2 separate regions of the Homo sapiens genome follow, and region 2 is linked to region 1. Evidence: promoter capture Hi-C in human tissues and cell types (Jung and others, 2019). All regions are on one chromosome and are shown on one strand. Each heading gives the region's core, a stretch centred on a gene start or on the middle of the fragment in contact. The rest is flanking DNA. Distances are from core to core; before and after follow the strand shown.

The links. The method cuts DNA at HindIII sites, captures the fragments that hold promoters and counts their contacts. A contact is called where the count stands out against the background at its distance.
Region 2: a fragment that was not itself captured here is called in contact with the fragment with the promoter of G0S2 in region 1 in 3 of the 25 tissues and cell types used here (H1 embryonic stem cells, heart left ventricle and hippocampus).

The regions. Positions count from the first base shown.
Region 1 is chr1:209,671,852-209,678,639 of GRCh38, forward strand. G0S2 (G0/G1 switch 2) reads left to right here and starts at 3,561. Exons shown (of 2, transcript NM_015714.4): 1 at 3,561-3,698; 2 at 3,802-4,539. The coding sequence starts at 3,834. The coding sequence ends at 4,145. The region is part of intron 1 of HSD11B1-AS1 (HSD11B1 antisense RNA 1); the gene reads right to left. RefSeq lists enhancers at 1,153-1,392, 3,673-4,521. The HindIII fragment of the contact is 8,087 bases long and covers 1,173-6,788 here.
Region 2 is chr1:209,562,468-209,569,918 of GRCh38, forward strand. LOC105372899 (a long non-coding RNA gene) reads right to left here and starts at 5,356. Exons shown (of 3, transcript XR_922537.2): 1 at 5,252-5,356; 2 at 5,069-5,166; 3 at 4,481-4,520. The HindIII fragment of the contact is 8,724 bases long and covers 1-5,917 here.

The DNA.
Region 1 (6,788 bases), core at 2,311-4,810:
CCCTATCCTCATGAAGCCTATCCTCCAACGCACATGGAAGACAATATAAAACCACACCATTAAGTACATCCACATAGAATCAGGTAACCAAGTGCTATGAAGAAAAAGAAAGTAGGGCACTGGGTGGAGAGTGGTGGGATGCAGTAGTCAGGGAAGGCCTCTCCAAATAACTTCCATGATATTTCAAGCCCAGAGAACAAATGAAACGGAGATGTCACTGCTAGAAATAAGGATATTGAGAAGAAGACTTAGCTTGTAAGAGTATAGAGAAGGTAAGGAGTCTTGTTTTAAGTGTGTCAAGCTGTGATAATAGCAGTGTATCCACACAGAAATATTTAGACTCTAGAACTCTAGTCTATAAGACCAGAGGAGACAGTGGCTACACATATAAATTTCAGTGTCTTCCACTGATATCCGAGTGATAAGCAACTTCCTTTCTAAAACTATGAAAGTAACTAAGGGTCTAAAAAAAATTTCTAGTGCGGTAGTCTTAAAACTACAAATAGTTTTGTCATATCTCCTATGATGACTCCCTCCCTTCAGCTGCCTGGAGCCCCAGGGGTGGGCAGTGACTTTGTGTAGGCAGCAAGCAGCCGGTAACAAAATAATAATTATTATTGTTATTATTATATTATAATAATTGTAACAATAACAATTATTATTGAAGCTCATTTACAACTAACCATCCAAAAGACCTCTTTCCCCTGTGTCTTCAATCCCCAAGGCAGAGGGGTAGGGACAGTTCTATCCCTCCTCTGCACTTAACCCTTGAAACACATGCACCCCTTTGTGACTTTACCCTCTGCAGATGGCTCTGAATGTCTTAATGTCTGAGAGAAAGGGATTTAGAAAGCAAAATATAAAAATTTTAAACTAGTCCTTCCTACCTTCCTAGAAGTGGCAAGAGTTAAATGTTGAGATAGACTCAAGGGTAGGATGACTATTTCAGTTTGCCTGGAAGTGTTTCAGTTTGCCTGGAAGTATCTCAGTTTTAGTGCTCAGTTTTAGCAGGAGTCCTGCATTTCAGAGAACCCCTCAACCCTGAGCAAAATAAGATGGTTGGTCACCCTATGGCTTGGTTTGACCATCATCGCTATAACCTGTATCTTACCTGCATGCATGACACAACACAGTGCTTTACTTCCCTAAAAATGACATCAGCCCCACTAAAATATATGTTTAGTTTCCAAGCCCTACCTAGTCACCTTCTACCCTAGGAGCCAGGTTCTCTTTTCCCACCCAGACAGAGGAGCTGCACTCAGAAATTCCTAGACATGAGTTAACACTGGATTCCTTAGCCTTCTACTCCCATCATCTCCTGCTCAGCCCCAGCTACCACCTAAACTAGGAAGATCAAGTCTACCAGTGACCTCCGTCCATGGCACTTGCTGCCCCTCCTCTGTCCAGCTCTTACCAATATAGCTGCTGGAACCTGGAGGTCAAAGTCAAATTATCAAAAAAAGGAACTGAGCTGGTGATGTGCACTAACACAGCAAATCACAGGAAAGGGGAACCCCAGGTAAATTACAGCCTTCTGACCTAGGAAGACGTGTGGTTTGCGTCTCTGAGTTACAGAAACACAGGAAATGCTTACTGGACCAGTCAATTTCAGAATTTTGGGTCCCAAGCTAGGCTGACTCACCTTCAGAATGGAAACCACGTGACAGCCCTTATATCAGGGCACACATCACATGCTCTTCCAGAAGTCAATGGGTTTGGAACCCTCACAGATATTGGGAAAGCTCACTAATCATTTCTGCCAGTTATCAGAGGTTGCTCTGAAACTATAAGGAAGATTCAAAGAAAATGCCAAGACTGATATTAAACTTGGCAGGAACCCTTGTTACAGAATTTTCCTGCCTGACAAGGTTAAAAGAACAATAAGCAGGAAACACAGTCCTCCAGGAATAATCAATTCTATTTGGCCCCTGGTCACCTTCACTCAGACTAAATTCTAAAACATAGAATTTCAAATAAGCTATTTAGATAACCTTGACCATTCTCCACACACAAGCCCTTGCCTGAACTATTAATAGTCAAGGCAAAGGGTAGTTGTTATTGCTGCCTTTTTAAACTGAATCATCTGAGAAATTGCTTCAGACCCCCAAAGAAAGATTACTGTTAACAATTCAAAAACTAAAATATTTGATCCCTGAGACAGCCTTTTCCCCCGACCCGCCCTTCAGGGCTCAGTCCGACCGACTGCAAAGGCTGTTGCAAGATTGCATCACTGACCTTTGCAATTTTCTGGCCAGTTTGATTTCCCCTTCTTTCCCCTGCCCCCTCCCTTTCTCTGCTTAAAGGCCTTTGGCCAATTTGCCTCTCCTTTTCCCCAAGTTTGCTAACCCTTTGGCCAATTTGCCTCTCTTTTTCCCCAAGTTTGCTAACTCTAGCATATCCATAACCAAAGCCAAACTAGAACGCTCCCTCAGCCCCAGGTGATTACAGCTAACCCTGGTCAAAATCAATCCTACATCTTCACACGTCCAAGAGTACTCACACTCTGGATTCTTACCTAAGCTGTCTACTACACGCCCTTCTGCCCACAAACTGCTTCAAAGCTGAAGTTGAGCTGGAGCAGTGAAGTTGTACCCCCAAACCCAGGAGGGTGGCAGAGAATTATTGAGGAGAGCATGAAATACTTCCATTCTAAAATGGCAGATGAACTTCTACCAACAGCCCCTTCCATACTTGACCCCCTACCCCCAAGCTCCCAACTCCACTTCTCAAGTGGAAGTGAGAACAATTTGAATTTGAAGGCTCTTCCCTGATACACGGAAGTACATAAGGAAACAGCTCGCAGGCAAAGAGACTAATCTCTCTCTCTTTCTCTCTCTCTCTCTCTCTCTCTCTCTCTCTCACACACACACACACACACACACACACACCTCTGTGCATAAAAGCACCATCAATGAATAGTTTTCTATCAACTGACTCTAGTTATACATGCATGTACCTCTAAATAAAACCAACCAGGCAGGAAAGAAACAATATTAGCACATATTGCTTTATCCAAGCGTAACCTGTTCTGTCCTGTTACCCAGATCCTTCCCCCTTGCCTTCTCCTCTCTGATCCATTGCCACACACGTGGGAAGGTGACAACCCTTCCGAATAAAAATGAAAGCTTTCTTCTTTAGATGGAACCCCCAAATTCCCTCATTATTTATAATGTCAGGCTGTCCTGGACAAGGGAAGCTGTGCACCCGCTGACACCAGTAAGAAGGTTGCCGCCATGTCAGAGATGTCCGCGGACACCTCCCTGGGCTCCGGGTCCTCCCCTGCGCTCGCCTGGAGTGGGACCTTCGCGTGCACACTGGCCTTCCCACGCGCCCCGCTGCGATGGCACCCGCGCCGGGCCCCCTAGCTCACACAGTCGGAGCGTGCTCAGCGCGTGGCCACCTCCTGCCAGGTCCCAGCCGGGTTCCACCCCCTCCTTTTCCCCTCCTCTTCTTCCTCCCCCTCCGAGTTCCCCTGGCTCTGACCGCGCTGGCCTGGGCCGGAGAGCCCAGGAGGCGTGTCTCAGAGAAAAGATATAAGCGGCCCCCGGACGCTAAAGCGGTGCCAGCGGCGGAGTCTCCAACTGGGAGAGCTGCAGCTGCCGAGAGGAGGAGAACGCTGAGGTCGGTCGGACCAACGGACGCGCTGACCGCTGCCAACTGCAGCTCGCGCTGCCTCCTGCTCGCGCCGTGCCACTAAGGTAGTCCGCCTTTCTATGAGCCCTCCCCAAGATTAGCTGGGTGCGGGGTGGTGGGAGCCGTTCTTTGGTGGCTGAAGCCCCTCTCCTGCTGCTCCTCCTGCAGGTCATTCCCGCCTCCGAGAGCCCAGAGCCGAGATGGAAACGGTCCAGGAGCTGATCCCCCTGGCCAAGGAGATGATGGCCCAGAAGCGCAAGGGGAAGATGGTGAAGCTGTACGTGCTGGGCAGCGTGCTGGCCCTCTTCGGCGTGGTGCTCGGCCTGATGGAGACTGTGTGCAGCCCCTTCACGGCCGCCAGACGTCTGCGGGACCAGGAGGCAGCCGTGGCGGAGCTGCAGGCCGCCCTGGAGCGACAGGCTCTCCAGAAGCAAGCCCTGCAGGAGAAAGGCAAGCAGCAGGACACGGTCCTCGGCGGCCGGGCCCTGTCCAACCGGCAGCACGCCTCCTAGGAACTGTGGGAGACCAGCGGAGTGGGAGGGAGACGCAGTAGACAGAGACAGACCGAGAGAGGAATGGAGAGACAGAGGGGGCGCGCGCACAGGAGCCTGACTCCGCTGGGAGAGTGCAGGAGCACGTGCTGTTTTTTATTTGGACTTAACTTCAGAGAAACCGCTGACATCTAGAACTGACCTACCACAAGCATCCACCAAAGGAGTTTGGGATTGAGTTTTGCTGCTGTGCAGCACTGCATTGTCATGACATTTCCAACACTGTGTGAATTATCTAAATGCGTCTACCATTTTGCACTAGGGAGGAAGGATAAATGCTTTTTATGTTATTATTATTAATTATTACAATGACCACCATTTTGCATTTTGAAATAAAAAAACTTTTTATACCATATCTCATGTAATTCCTGAGAGGTGTGGTGTCCTGGGGTGGGAAGCAGGGAGGGTGAGCAGGTGGGCGATGGTGATGGGTTCTTACCTGAGCACTGCAGAGGGAGCAGCTTCCTGAGGGTCAGACACTTGCTTCACACCTAGGAACTGTGTAATAAGTTACTACATGCATATAAGTCTGTTGAGGACTTGTTTTTCCTTCTTGTTAGGGGTGGGAAGAGAGAAAATTTTATAACTTCCGTGAGATTTAGCATTTTAACATCAAAAGGTAGATCAACTTCTGAGCTACAGTGAGTAGGAGATAACTGATTAATTCTAAGGCAGAAAAGCTCTTTGTTCCTTACACCTGTGCACCAGAGGTTCCCATGGCTGATACCTTTTTCTTCCCAACTATATTTTAGACAGACAGACAGAGAGAAGGAAAGAAAATGAAGGAGGGAGGTCTGGAGGTGAAGGGAAGGAAAGAAAGGAAAAACTATCTACCTGGCAGGAAAAGAGATAAGCTCCCAAGAACACCAAAGCAGATGATGAGTCTAGCTCTACCCAGCCTTCCTCCCCACGAATCCAGATCATAGTAAGAAACTCTGGGCTAGAAAGAGAAAAAAACCGGTTGTTACATATCTGAGTCCTCCTCCTCCAGTGTACAGAGCTTCATCTGTAGTAATAGCTAATTCAGTGACTCTATAGGGCTCAGCAAAACAAATTTTAAACTTTAAAGAAGTAGCCAGGAGCCAGAGGCATGGCCTTGATGCTAGTCTCCTCACATTTTTCATGTCACCTGTCCTAATCAGGTACTGACACTTTACTCCTTTCATCAACAGCTATGCATTTTTGCCAAACATATCACTGGCTCACACCATTGCCTCTGCTCAGACTCTCTCCTTCGTCCAATGCCCTACACACATCTCCATTTCATTTCTGCCAACTCAATTCCTACCAAGTGTTCCTGGCCCTGATCAAAAGCCATCTCTTTCTGAAATCTATTCTTATCACTCCCAAAGGAAAAAAGCAATCAGAATGTGGTAAGATTAATCAAGGAAAAGAAACATATTTGGAGTTTTAAAGGAAAAGAATGTCAGTGGCACCATGGCTCTCCCAGTTTCCAAAATGGGAAATTCAGCCCTATACCAAGGCAGAGCCTCACTTTCAATGTCCAAGAAACTTCCTAGGAACTGACTCAATTTTATCCTTCCTGCTGGTCTTCCAAAATGCCTCTTTTATTAATTACTCCTTTACCCATTCAGTTACCACCTTGTCTGGCTCTCAACCGCTCAAGCCACCCCCTGCACCTTCTAGCACATTCACCCTAAACAATCCCTTGTCAGACTGTCTTCCTTTAATATCTTTCATTCTGCTGCTCCTGAACTCAAAAACATCTGAGACTAAAACTCTTATGCCAGGTTTCAGTGCCTCTGTGATGTGCTTCCATCACAGCTGGCCGTCTTGCCTGATTTGTCAGGGTGCCTAGCATGAACCCTGGTCCTTGCCTGTTTCCTTCTGGTTTTCTGCACCTTCATTTACATTACTCTTCCAACCCGAATTTCCAACCCGAATGTCCTCCCACCCACTACCTCCACATCTTCTGAAACCACATACCTCAAATTCTCCAAGGAAGGTATGATTTCAAATACAGGTATTTTGCCCATTGTCAAAATACATGTAAAATTGTGTGCTCTGATTTTTGAGATGGAGTCTTGCTCTGTCACCAGGCTGGAGTGCAGTGGCACAATCTTGGCTCACTGCAACCTCTGCCTCCTGGGTTCAAGCGATTCCACTGCCTCAGCCTCCCGAGTAGCTGGGACTACAGGCGTGTACCACCATGCCCAGCTAATTTTTTGTATTTTGGTAGAGATGGGGTTTCACCATGTTGGCCAGGATGGTCTCAATCTCCTGACCTCATGATCCGCCTGCCTCAGCCTCCCAAAGTACTGGGATTACATGATTTTTTATTTAGAGGGTAACGCCTATGTTTTGAAAGGTTGCCTATACATAAAAAAATAAAGTTCCCTAAATATATAAGTATGCCTATATGTTTTTGTGTAGAAGGAAATTCCCCATGCCTATTTATATTCAAATTACCCAACCCAATCAAATCCGAGCTATTGAAATCTCTGTTCTCACTGGTCTTCTCAATTCTCTGAGTTCTTATAGGCCGTACAGCCTGAATCTCATACCACATCACTCAGTAATGGGCTTTTTTTCTTCCAGTTGTTCTGTGGGCTTGGTCATGTCTCTTACAGTATAATCTTCTTG
Region 2 (7,451 bases), core at 306-2,805, 110 kb before region 1:
GGGATTTGAACCAGGGACCACATTCACTGTTATACAGACCATGTGGCTTCAGGAAACCAAACAATGGGGTTCTTTGCATAGAAGAGTCTCTTCCTAGGAAGGTATTCAGAGAGTTTGGTCAGAGATGGCTTATATGAAGTCTGCATTGGATACCACCAAAATAATGCCAGGAGGAAGGAAAAAAACCCAATCTCTACCACTTGTTTTGAAGACAAGATGCTAAACAACTCACTGCTTGGGTTGCAGAGGTTTTTAAAATTTATTCATGTATTTGTTTTTACTGAATTGTGTGCACAGGGCACTCAGAATATACAAAACAGTAAACATTAAATCTACCATCCGGATATTTCTAAACATCTGGGCATTTGGCATCACATTGACCCCAACATGTTGTCATATGACCGTGGAGTTGGAGCCCAGAGCAGACACAGGCAGAGGAGGCAGCACATGGAGAGGGGTGTTTAGCTCACCCATCCCAGAATGCCTGTGGATGTCCATGTCTCAAATACTCTGATGTATTGTCAGGCTATGTCCAAATTTTTAATTTGGAAACTATAGTCACAATAGATACAGGGATAAAAGAAACAGTATGAGGGAGAGGGAGAAAAAAAGGAAGAAAAGACAGGGAAGGAAAGACAGCAAATGAGAAAGGGACCTGGCTGGGGCACTTCTTTGAGCAGTGGGGATGGAACAGTTAGAAAACGCGTGCCACACCGTATGGCATTCCCAAGGGGTGCTGTTTCCACAGCCACCGTCTAACACTGTCGTGGGCTGTTCTCATCCCAACCCCAAGGCTCAGATGGAAATAGCCCAAGCACTAGGTTCCCCTGGAGCTTACCTTACACCAGGTTTAGTAACACTGTCGTTTTCCTCACCTCAGTGGTGTGGGACAGAGAGGGAAGAGTGAGAATCTCCCCATTCTACAGACAGGGAAGCCAAGGCTCGGGAGGGAACAGAAGGTAGCCAGCGATGAGCTGAAAGGTGGAGGTAAATCTAAGCTCCTTGTTTCCAGGGTGACATCTGGATGTTTTTCCCTTTTTTTTTTTTTTTTGAGACAGAGTCTCCCTCTGTCGCCCAAGCTGGAGTGCAGTGGCACAATCTCAGCTCACTGCAGCCCCTACCTCCCAGGTTCAAGCAATTCTCCTGCCTCAGCCTCCCGAGTAGCTGGGACTACAGCATGCACCAGCACACCTGGCTAATTTTTATGTTTTTAGTAGAAATGGGGTTTCACCATGTTGGCCAGGCTGGTCTTGAACTCCTGACCTTAAGTGATCCACCAGCCTCAGCCCCGCAAAGTGCTGGGATTACAGGTGTAAGCCACCGCACATGACCATTTTCCTTTTCTAGAGGTAAGAGCTCAGAGAAGCCTTAATTGAAATAATTCCCCGCTACCCACATATAGATCAAAAGACAGGCAAGATGAGGCGAGACTGTTTGGAAGCCTGGAGAAGATTGGCACCACTTTAAACATGGCCCTCCACATACACACCTCCTCATACCCAAACATACACATGTTCATGCCACATGTCCTTAAGATTTATTTTGTTAAACCCATGAAGTGAAGACCATCCTCTCTACAGAGTCCCCCTGCCTGCCTGCCTGCCTGCCTAGAATCTCCCTGTGTTTTTATTTCCTGTACTGGGTGATTGATTACAGAAGAGCAAATTAGCTCCTACTGCTTTTAAGATGCATTTTCTTTCTTAAAGAGAAGATGATGTGAGCATTACTTCTCCCTGTCCACTGTGTGCCTTGGCTTTGGGCCTGTAGTCACTGCAGCTTTGGTAGGGCCTTCCTGGAAGGGAGGAGTACAGCAGCATCTGCTAGCCTGCAGCTAGGCCCACCCTGGGGGCCCAGTCCTGCACCCACTCTGCTTTCCCCAGGCTTCTCCTCCTGTCCCAGGAGACTCTCTGGTTACTCCAAACTATTTTCACCCTTCTCTCTGTACCAATACATGTGAATTCAGTTGCCTAGCAGAGTAGATGCTGTTGAATGAATGATGAAGTAAATGATGAATGAATTATAAAGACTAAAATCTCAACTTAATGAAATAAATGTGCTCTGGGCTCCAAAGCATGCTCCCCTGCCCACATCTCTGTCTCTCTCCTCTCTCTGTCTCTCTGTCCTCTCTCTCTCTCTCTCTCTCTCTCTCTCTCTCGTGGGTCTTGCTATTCAAAGTAGTTCCTGGACCAGCAACATCAGCAGTCACCTGGGAGCAAGGTTCCAAGGAGACCTATATACAAATTAAACCTCGAGAAGCACTGCTGTGTGGTCCTGAGTGGAGGCAGGCTGGTAGACAAAATGATCTCTCAAGGCCCCTCATTGCTTTACATGTCTCTCAACATGATCTCAGATAAAGACGGTTACGAGAAGACTTAGCCCAGGGTCACTGTACACCTACAGGGCCGGCCTGGAATGTGGAAGGTAGAATTTCAACTCTTTCCCTCCCGGTCTAGTCCTTCCTGCTGTAATGCTCCTTTGGAGGTCCCAGCTGACAGAGTCAGAGCACAGCATGGCTTTGCTCTAACTAATTGCCAACAGTTGGCTGAAGCTACATTTGTTATTCAAAAAGCCTCATTAATCTCCTAATGCCAGTGTAGCCATGGCTGCTAATGGTGCCTCTCATCTCCCCACACCCAGTTCCGGATGGGGCATCCTGGCTCCTGGCAGCAGAGCAGCAGGAAATGGCTTCCTTCTCAGAAGGCTAAGCTAGTATCTGGGGTCATGGAGCCGGGCTGATTTAGAACCTGGCTGAGTTCCACCTGTGGATGGAGTGGTACTAGGAGGCTGGACTCAAATCTGGGTCATCCTTGGGTCACAGAGCCTTGGAATGGTTCAGGTAGGTGGAAGAATGGATTATAGAATACCACAAGAAGGCTTATGTGAGACCTCTTGGATGAGCTGAGCTGAGCTGCCCCCTCACAGCCAAATCAAGAAATCCACTGCTTGTCTCTTGGGTATAGGGATGGGCTCTATCTCGCGAAACCCTGCAGCATGTTTGGACATGGAAGAGGTGCCTTCCAGAAAGCTCATGATGGGGAAGTCCTGAACAACTAGAGAGCCTTTGCCAAGGTTGAATCGAGGTTGAAACCTGCATGTATCCTATGGCCCAGAGAACATGATTTCAGTGCTTTCCTGTCTTCTTTCTCTAAGTTCTGCCTCTGTGGGTCTGTCTTTCCACGACTATAAACTCCGAAGGGACGGGATCTGCTGTGTCTTTCACACCTAACCCCTCACATCCCCAGTACTGGCCCTGCTGACTCATGAGCCATCCACCTGACTCACAGTCAGATATGGAGGTACAGGAGAGAGTATGAGGGGGACGGGAAGAAGGAGAAATAGCAGAGGAGAAAAAGGAGCAAGCAAAGAAGAGAGCTGGCAGAGCATACCTCTGGGCAGGGAGAATACGATGAGTATCAAGAATAAGACGCTCCGTGAAGACTCATGCCACTGCCCCCAGTGGCTATGGGTCTGGACCCAGATGGGTGCACCAACCGCAGCAGCAGGGCTGAGACAGGCGCAGCCTAGGAGGGCTCCATCCTCTTTTTACTTCCAAAATTTTATTATAACATTTTCCAGACAGAAAAATTGAAAGAATTTCACAGAAAATGCCCAATATAGATAGTGGGTATATAGGTGCCCATCTTTTTCGCTGTTTTTGTTTTTCCAAGGGACCAGATCCTCTGGCCTCGATCAATTCAATCCCATCAGTATTGCCCAAGCTTAGATGCGCGGGCAGCCTTCTCACCAGCCATTATTAAGGTATTTGTTAGAACAACACTGCCCCCTGCTGACTACAGGCTCTCACTTCTCTGGGACGGCTCTGCCTTGCAAAGGGCTAAGAGAGGGCTGGATCAGATTGTTCCTTCCCAGCCCTTTGCTTTGTCCCTCCCGTGTCTACCCTTAGCTTTGCCTCCACCCTCAACTTTAGTTCCTGGGGCACCCGCCCAGGCACAGCAATGAGCACCCGACTGAGACTCAGACAAGCTCAGACAATTAAGCAATGTGTGAGGCCAGCAAATGTCTTTTATCTTCATTTTTCTACAACTTTTCACTGAGTACTGCTTGTGTGAGGTGCAGCACTAGGGCTGTAGGCAGGGCAAAGCTATGTCTCCAGGCTGTGGATAAATAACTTGACCGCCTGGAGCCTCACTTTCCTCCTCTGTGAAATAGGGATCATCAGACTCTTTCTTTTCTGCTTCAGAGAGGGGCTGTCAAGCAAAGAATGAGAAAGAGCGCAATGAACCTGATGGTTTCAGACATAACTGGGAAGATCTAGAAAGCATTCACCTTCTTAAGGCTACAACTGAACCTATTTCCAGGTGATTTCTTAACTTCAGGTAAGTAGCTTGGGCCTTAGTATATGTATTAGTCCGTTTTCACGCTGCTGATAAAGACATACTCAAGACTGGGGAATTTATAAAAGAAAGAGGTTTAATTGACTCACAGTTCAGCATGGCTGGGGAGGCCTCACAATCATGGTGGAAGATGAAGGAAGAGCAAAGGAACATCTTACGTGGTGGCTAACAAAGAAAAAATGAGAGTCAAGCAAAAGGGGTTTCCCCTTATAAAACCGTCAGCTCTATTGAGACTTATTCACTACCGTGAGAACAGTATGGGGGACACTATCCCGATGATTCAATTATCTCCCACCAGGTCCCTCCCACAACACATGGGAATCATGGGAGCTACAATTCACAATGAGATTTGGGTGGGGACAGAGCCAAACCACATCAGTATATTTGTAGTTAAATATTCTCAGGTGTTTAGTGTTTAAATATCTCTACCAAAGGAAAGAAGTAAAGCAGAATGGATCATCCCAAACACTGGTGGCCTCTGGGGCAAGCTCCCTGTATAACTGGAAGCTGACAGAGCGAGATCTCACCTCAGGCTTCTGGCACCTGTTTCATTCAAGATCAGTTACAGCTGTGGTTCTCAATCCTGAGCTAGATCAGAATTACCTGAGGGAGTTGTTAAAACCCAGACTCTGGCCCCATCCTCAGCCTCTGATTCAGCTTGCGTGGGGTGAAGCCTGGGGGTTTGCATCTCTTAAACATCCCCCGATACTTACCTGGGACCAGACTGGGAACCACTGAGCTCGGCTCCGCTTTGGCAACAACTCCTGAATCTCAGTGACTTTGCACCACAGAAGTTTATTTTTCGCTTGTGCTACCCATGGATAAGAAAGAGTCAGTGCAGCTCTGCTCCACATAGTCACTCAAGAGCCCAGGCCCACTTAGGTCCCCCCACCCACCTTATAGCTGCAGCTTCTGGAACATGTGACCTTCTTGGTTGCTGTGGCACAGGAAAAGAAACTGAAGAATCATGTGTGGGCTTTTAACTGTCTCAGCCCAGAAGTGATGATATAAGCCACATGCACTCACATTTCACTGACCAGAGCTACTCACATGGCCCTGCCCACATTCCAGGCAGGAGTCTTCCATGTCTCTAGAAGAAGTGGATTGGATGTTGGTGAATGCTTGTACTTGTGGGGACAAGAATGACTTTATTTTAAATGGTAATTCATCATGTAACTTATGACTAACCCCGAGTCCAGGAATGCCTCCAAAATGTCTAGTTGATGTATTACTCTTTATGTAGGAACATCTATTCATTGTAAGTTTCCTCCAAAACAACCCTTGTAGTTGCAGAAATCAAAGGCTGTGACACCCATAGCCATCTACACATCCCTTCCAGAGCATGTATGCTTTTTCTTCAAGATATAAGCCCTGGGTCTGGGGGGTGTTGTGGTGCAGAGATCTACCTGTCTTGGGACCACCCAAGACCTTGCTTCTGCCTGTAAGTTCCCCATAATAAATCATTCAAAACTGACAAACTATATTTGTCTGCCTCTTTCTTTGGTTACTTGGCTCCTTCTGCATTTGGAGGTTGCCTTATACATGCGGCCCTTTCATGGAACAGTACTGTCAACCATACCAAGCAAGCATATCTCTTTTCACTCTCAAGAACATGTGTGATCACAGCAAAATGGGGTGGTGGTTAGCGGGAACAAATATCTGGCCTCATAAGTCTTGGTCATTTATGATGATGATGATGATGATGATGACAGAAAATAACTACTGAGTGCTCACTATGTTCCAGGAACTGTTCTAAGTAGTTTTTGTGTATCAACTCGTTTAACCCTCACAATAACCTTACATGGTAAGTACCATTTATACCCATTTTATAAATGAGGAAACTGAGGCAAAGTGTGATTACATCGCTCACCCAGGTCATAGAGCTATAAGAGACACAGCTGGGATTATAATCCAACCAGTCTGACACCAGAGTCCATGTTTTAAATCACTGTTCTGCTCTATCACTACCCAGCTAACTTTATTTTTGAAGATAAGAGGAGACTATAGTAGAAGGCCTGATTATGATTAATAGATAAGTGAATAGTTCAAACCCGAATAATCCAAATACAAACAGTTCTACAGAGAGGGGATCCCCACCCAAGCATCTCTACTGATATCCCAAATATGCCCAAATATGTCAAAATGGTTTCCAGTTCCAACAGAAGGGCTTTCAGGGTCCTCACCAATGCCCCACAATGTCTGGAAGGCCATTCAGGTAGTGTCTGTTCCCCCCTAAAATCACACTCTTCCTAGTAAATTGATCAGGAGGATGGACAATTTTTTTTTTTTTTTTTTGCATTTCTCAAAGAATTGCCTCCCAGGTCATACAGATCCCCCTTAGGAGGATCTTATGCCCACTTTCCTCCCTGTTTCCCCCTACACTTCCCCTTGGCCCTATTCCATCTGGAAAGACAAACTGTAGAGTCCCCAACCTGACCCAAGCATCTACTCTTTCTCTACCCTGGTGGGCCAGTGGCAGGTTCTTATTTGACAATATCATCATAAGAGGATTTAAGTCTTAGCATCAGTAAGAAAAAGCAATTCTTCAGGTTGAAGCATCTACACAAAAAATAACCTTTCTCCCTACTGATTGTGATAGCCTCTTGTAACTTCAATAAGTATGCTATTAAAAACTCTGTTTCTTTATTCTGTCTCACCAAATACCCCCTCCCCACAATAAATTGAGAAATGAAATATATATATATATGAGATAGAAAAATCCCACCTGGACTCACTGGATTAGGTGAATTTGTTTTCCTCATTGGTGGATGCGTAGGATTTAGCTGCAAAGAGCCTCTGGCCAGCAGAGGGCGATAGTCTCATAGCTTCAAATGTAAGCTACAGGTCCGCCCTCAAAGGTATCTCTCGGGGAATGTTTCCCTCATCAAGAAGAATCTGTTTAATCCGAAACACAGGACGCTCGATGGTTCTTGTTAGTGCCTCAAATGGAGTCAATCAGTGGCCTCAAAATGTCAGATTTCCTCCCTGGGTTTTACGAGTCTCTCATTTCCTGTTTTTCTTAATGAAAGTTCAAAATCTCCCTGGCAATGATTTTGAATCACCACAGTTTTCAAGAAATCTGAAAATCCTATTTCT